Regions from separate parts of the Homo sapiens genome. Here region 1 is linked to region 2. The links are contacts of gene promoters, found by promoter capture Hi-C in blood cells and fetal thymus (Javierre and others, 2016). All regions are on one chromosome and are shown on one strand. The core of a region is centred on a gene start or on the middle of the fragment in contact, and the rest is flanking DNA. Distances in the headings are between cores, read along the strand shown. Region 1 has its middle 21 kb from the start of LINC00858. Region 2 holds the start of CDHR1 (cadherin related family member 1).

The links. Contacts are between HindIII fragments. The CHiCAGO score rates a contact against its expected background, and 5 or more counts as called.
Region 1: a fragment that was not itself captured here is called in contact with the fragment with the promoter of CDHR1 in region 2 in 1 of 17 cell types (neutrophils); the score reaches 6.4 in neutrophils.

The regions. Positions count from the first base shown.
Region 1 is chr10:84,299,186-84,301,885 of GRCh38, forward strand. No RefSeq gene overlaps it. Among named protein-coding and RNA genes, the nearest start is that of LINC00858, 21 kb to the left of the region's middle. The HindIII fragment of the contact is 8,547 bases long and covers 1-2,700 here.
Region 2 is chr10:84,193,150-84,195,849 of GRCh38, forward strand. It overlaps CDHR1 (cadherin related family member 1), which reads left to right and starts at 1,388. Exons shown (of 17, transcript NM_033100.4): 1 at 1,388-1,666; 2 at 2,345-2,440. The coding sequence starts at 1,612. RefSeq lists silencers at 1,284-1,413, 1,484-1,603. The HindIII fragment of the contact is 5,936 bases long and covers 1-2,700 here.

The DNA.
Region 1 (2,700 bases), core at 114-2,613, 110 kb after region 2:
GCCACCACACCTGCCCCCATCCCTTTGGATTTTGGGGAGAAGTGCTAATCACTACCTTCAATGAAGCAAATCTTCTTCCTCAACTGCCCAAATCAAAGCCCCCAAATTATGTCAGGACAGCCCAGATTGTAGTAGGAAGACAGAGGTCATTGGAAGGGAGCTTTTTCTCCTGGGGGGAGAAAAAAAAGAAGATAATTCTGTATCTGATACCACAGAGACTTTGTTTTTGTGTTTATTGTCTAATGGAAGAAAAGAAAGAATGTTAGGACATTAGAAAAGAAAGACACAGAGCTATACAAGAAGGACAATGTGGTCAAAACGCACTCCTTAGCTCTACAAAGAACATTGTCAGTGTGGACCTAATAAGGTAGCCTGTTTATTGATTTGACCAAAAATAGAAATAGAGCTACATTGGGAGAATGAAGAGAGGGGAGGGTGATGTAAGAGGGCTAAATCATGATCTATAGGAGGTAAAGCAGCAATGTCCGAATTTAGTAAACTACAACTATGAGTGTACGCTTGGGGAGAGATAGGGTATGGTCAGAGGTGGCACAAAGCAGTGCTTTATCATTATCTTCATCATGTATCCTCTTAGAACTCTTAGCCATGTTTGTGTATAACTTTTACTAAAAATTTATACATCTATAAAGAAAAACTGCCCCAACCATCTGTAAAATGAAAATGTGCCTTCTGGGATGGCTGCTGTAGGAAGCAGATACCCTGGGGCTTGCAAGGGGGTTGGAGGAGAGGGGCCTCATGCACTGCCCTACCATCCCTGTGCTGCCTTGGAGGACCAGCAGCAGCCAGGGCCCAGGTGACCTGGTAGAGACCAGCCATCCAGCAGGTCATGCTCTTCCAGCCATCCAGCAGGGAAGAGCTCCTGATGCTGAGGACCCCCAGAGAGGATCCCTCCTGAACCATGGGTCAGAACCTTCTCTCTACTTCCACACATGAGAGGCAGCTGGCCCTGACTGGGGAAGACCAGGTCAACTCTCCAGTTTCACACAGCTCTGTGTATGGCTTTTTCCATTTAAAATTATCTTGTGGGCATTTTTATGCAATATGTATCTTTTGGAATTTGGTGCAAATGCTATCTGGTCTCATTGTGTGGCTATACCATGTTAACGGCATATCTAAAACACAACACTGTGCTGGCTAAGAGTACAGGTGCATCAATCCTATTTTCTCAACTAGAACCCTGACTCTGTCACTTTCCAGCTGTGTGACATGCGGGGACACACAGCTTCAGCTTCTATCTCTGTAAAATAAGGTAATAAGAGTACCTAATTCACAGGGCACTTGTGAGATTTAAATAAATAAATACATGCAAAGTGCTCAGAGCAAGACCCACTGCTTAATAAACACATAACACATTGTAGCTATTACTATTTTTTAGCAATCCTAGCCAGATTAGGTGGCTGGTGCCTGAAATCCCAGCTACTGAGGTAGGAGGTAGGAGGATCCCTTGAGTTCAACCGTTTGAGGCTGCAGTGAGCTATGACTGTGCCACTGCACTCCAGCTTGGGTGACAGAGTAAGACCCTGTCTCTAATAAAAATAATAATAAGAAGAAGACTCCATCCTCATTTTATTTTATTTATGTACTTATTTATTTTGAGACAGAGTCTCGCTCTGTGCCCAGGCTGCAGTGCAGTGCGTGATCTTGGTTCACTTCAACTTCTGCCTCCCGGGTTCAAGCAATTCTCCTGCCTCAGCCTCTCGAGTAGCTAGCTGGGACTACAGGCACACACAACTACGCCTGGCTAATTTTGGTATTTTTAGTAGAGACAGGGTTTCACCATGTTGGCCAGGCTTGTCTTCAACTCCTGACCTGAGGTGACCCACCTGCCTCTGCCTCCCAAAGTCCTGGGCTTACAGGCGTGAGCCACCGCACCTGGCCGCCATCCTCATTTTAAATATAGGATTTCTTTTTCCTAAAGCACACTTTAATAAACCTCCTTATACAACTTAATCACACACAAAAATTCATATTCGTTAAAGAAAAAAATAGACCATGCACATGAGCAAAAAAAGAAAACAAAAGCTACTTGGAATATTACCCTTTTCCCCCAAAGATAACCGTAATATATTTGGTGCTATATATTTCAAATCTCTTTCCTTTGCGTGTGTGTGTATACACATATGTATACATATACATACACACACATATTTACACATATACACACAATATATTTGTACACTATATACACACATAACTCCTTAGAAAAATTCGTTTTGTGATACTGTTTTATAGTTTTCTTTTTACCAGTTAAGAATAGATCATTGGAGTTATGTGTGTATATAGTGTATATTTTGTGTATATGCGTATATATGTGTGTGTATATATATATGTATACATGTATGTATACACACACACAAAGGAAAGATATATATATGTATATATGTATACATATGTATATATACACATATATACATATATACACATACATATACGTACACACACACACACACACACACACACACAGGAAAGAGATTTGAAATATATACACCAAATATATTGTGGTTATCTTTGGGGGAAAAGGGTAATATTCCAATTAGCCGGGCGTGGTGGCAGGCACCCGTAGTCCCAGCTACTTGGGAGGTTGAGGCAGGAGAATGGCGTGAACCTGGGAAGCGGAGCTTGCAGTGAGCCTAGATCGTGCCACTGCACTCCAGCCTGGGTGACAGAGCGTGACTTCAT
Region 2 (2,700 bases), core at 138-2,637:
GGCTCTGCCTCTGGCTCCTGGGAAATCCACGGCAAGACTCAGTCTCCACATCCCTATATGGGACTTGCAGAATACTTGCCTTAGCTTTGTCCCAGCACTTTGGGAGGCAGATTCAGAACATCTGTGCAATTTAAAGTGTGTCTTTTCAGCAAAAGAGCCAAGCCTAAGGAGACTCAACAAGGGTTTCGGCCAATTAGGCCTGAAAACTGCTGCACATTCTAAAACCATTGATTCATCTTCCTTCTTCTCTGCAAATCCCTGACCCTTGCTCACAGTAGATCATGTAGGGCTAGACCAAGGGATGGGGGGTGCTCTGTTCCCTCAAAGGCCCCTGGCAGGGGGAGGGGGGGAATGCTGAGTCCTCAGCTGTGGAGACCTCTCCCAGGAGCACACAGAGGAGGGATCTCCTCTATCTGAGAACACATCCACCCAAGGGCATCCTGGGAAGTGGCCTGGCTTGGGCTTGAAGTGACCTGTACCCCCATAAATGGCCCAACCAGGAAAAGGAAAACAGGCTGCATTTCCAAGCACCCTCCAGTGTCAGAGCAGGAGAACGAGGAAGCCCAAGGAGCTTTACCAGCAGCCAAAAAGGTTCCTGGGCTTACCTGTGTCTTCAAGTTATCAGCATCCAGGACCCCAATAGCAGTGCCTTGCTTTGTGTAAATACCCTCTAGGAATGAGATCTCGTGCCTCTCGGGCAGTTCAGATCTATCTTGGCCAGCTCTGTGCAAGTCTGTCCTAAGATGGGGCTTAACTCTGCCTTCAGGCCCTTCACTCTTCCTTGGAAGGTTTGAAGAGTGGGTCAGCTGCCCCTTCATGGTCCCAGACTGGGCACTGACTGGGAATGGGGAGCAGAACTGCCTCTCACCCTGGTGGACACCTGAGGGTCCTCCCTGCTGCCCACCACACAGATCAGACCCTTTGGGAGAGGTGGTCCAGCCTGGGGAACAGGGCAGGAATGGGTTGAGATCACAGAGAGGGGGTCCTGATAACCCCTTACCATCTGCTGCCCATCCATCACCCTTTCTCTTTGCCTTTGGTCTCACGCGGCTTATAGAACCTGCTTAGACTGCTAAGGCAAGGCCCTCTCGGCCGCTCCACTAACTTTTCTTCTGGAATGCTTAGCTCAGAGAAGACAGCTAAGCCCCTGAAAGTCACAGAGGAAGTTGATGAGAAAAGAAAACTGCGAAGCCCAAGCCCCACCAGGACTTAAGTACCCTGGGAAAGCCTCAGGACAACTTGGGGGAAAGACACTCCTGTCCCCCATGGTGTCCTCCTGTCCAGGACTGGGGGCCGCCGGCAAAGGGGGCGTGGCGGGCGGGGAGTCCTCTTGTCACGCCCTCCTGCCCCCGCCCGCGGCTGGGAGCCTGTCGCTCCGCTCTGCGCCGCTAATTGGTCTCGTCAGGCGGCCGGCAGGAGCAGATCCGAGCCGTGTCATCCTCTTAGCGCCCTCACGCCACCCGCCGCTCCCGCCCCGTGCCCCCTCCCGCCGCGGCTGCAGTCGCCGCTACCCCCATTGTGGTCTCTGCCCTCCCCGCGGGCCCAGGGCATGCTCCGTGCCCCTGCGCCCGGTCTCGGCGGCGGCAGGCGACACTCCGCGCCGGCGGAGACATGAGGCGCTGCCGGTGGGCCGCCCTGGCCCTGGGGCTGCTGCGCCTCTGCTTGGGTGAGTGGCCGCTGGGCCGCGCTGGCCGCGTGGATGGCGAGGGAGATGGGCGCTGGCGTCACCCAGGTGGCCAGAGGGACATGGTCCTGGACCACTTCCAGAGTGGGACTCGGGCTGGTGGACGGGAGCGGAGAAGTCCTTCCATCTTCCTGGCCCATTCGGTAGTGGGGAGTGGGGTAGCGGAGTAGTGGGGAGCTCCGGGGCGCTTCTCCAGAGCTGGCATCCTAGGGCCCCAGGGTTTGGCGCCCGGACCCCCGCTGCTCTCCGCTTGCTGGGAACCAGAGCTGTAGGCTTGGTGGCAGCTCCGATGCTGCGTGGGGCAGGAGATAGTGCCCTGACTCGCGGCTTGACCTTGGCTGGGCTGGGGCACTGCCCCTCTCCGAGCGCGGGTGCAATCTGCCCATTGATGAAGGAGGGGTTGGATTGCTACCTGGGTTCTAAGCGCCCACATGCTACGTGTCCCTGACAAGCCCGAGCCCACCGGGGGCGGAGTGGGGGTCAGGGGCATCCTCTGGGCGGCGCCCCAGTGGGGTCCCTCGGTGCACTTGGGTTGGGGAGGCGGAGCGCCCTCCTGCCCAGTAGCTGGGCCTGACGCGGGACCGCGCTGGTGCGAAGCTCCCTCCTGGTGTCTGGGTGTCCTTTGCCTGGGTGTCCGTCTGTTCTGTGTTCTTTTTCCAGCTCAGGCCAACTTCGCCCCGCACTTCTTCGACAACGGGGTCGGCAGCACCAACGGAAACATGGCTCTGTTCAGCCTCCCAGAGGACACCCCTGTAGGTGAGTAGCCCTGGCACCTGCTCCCGATAGGTCTCCCTGAGGGGTGCAGGCAGACTTAGAACACAAAGTGCCCCAGGCACCACCCAAGTTGCTGCGCGCGCCCGGGGGCTCCTTGTTTGCTCTCCGAATTCCCCTGGGCAATGGCAGGAAAGAAGGTCATTGCTGCCATGGCGACTTAAGTCTGGCCAGTCCTGGAGACCAGGGCTCCCCCCCACAGACAGGGTCGCCCCGCGAGGCAGGCAGCTACAGCTGCCCCTTAT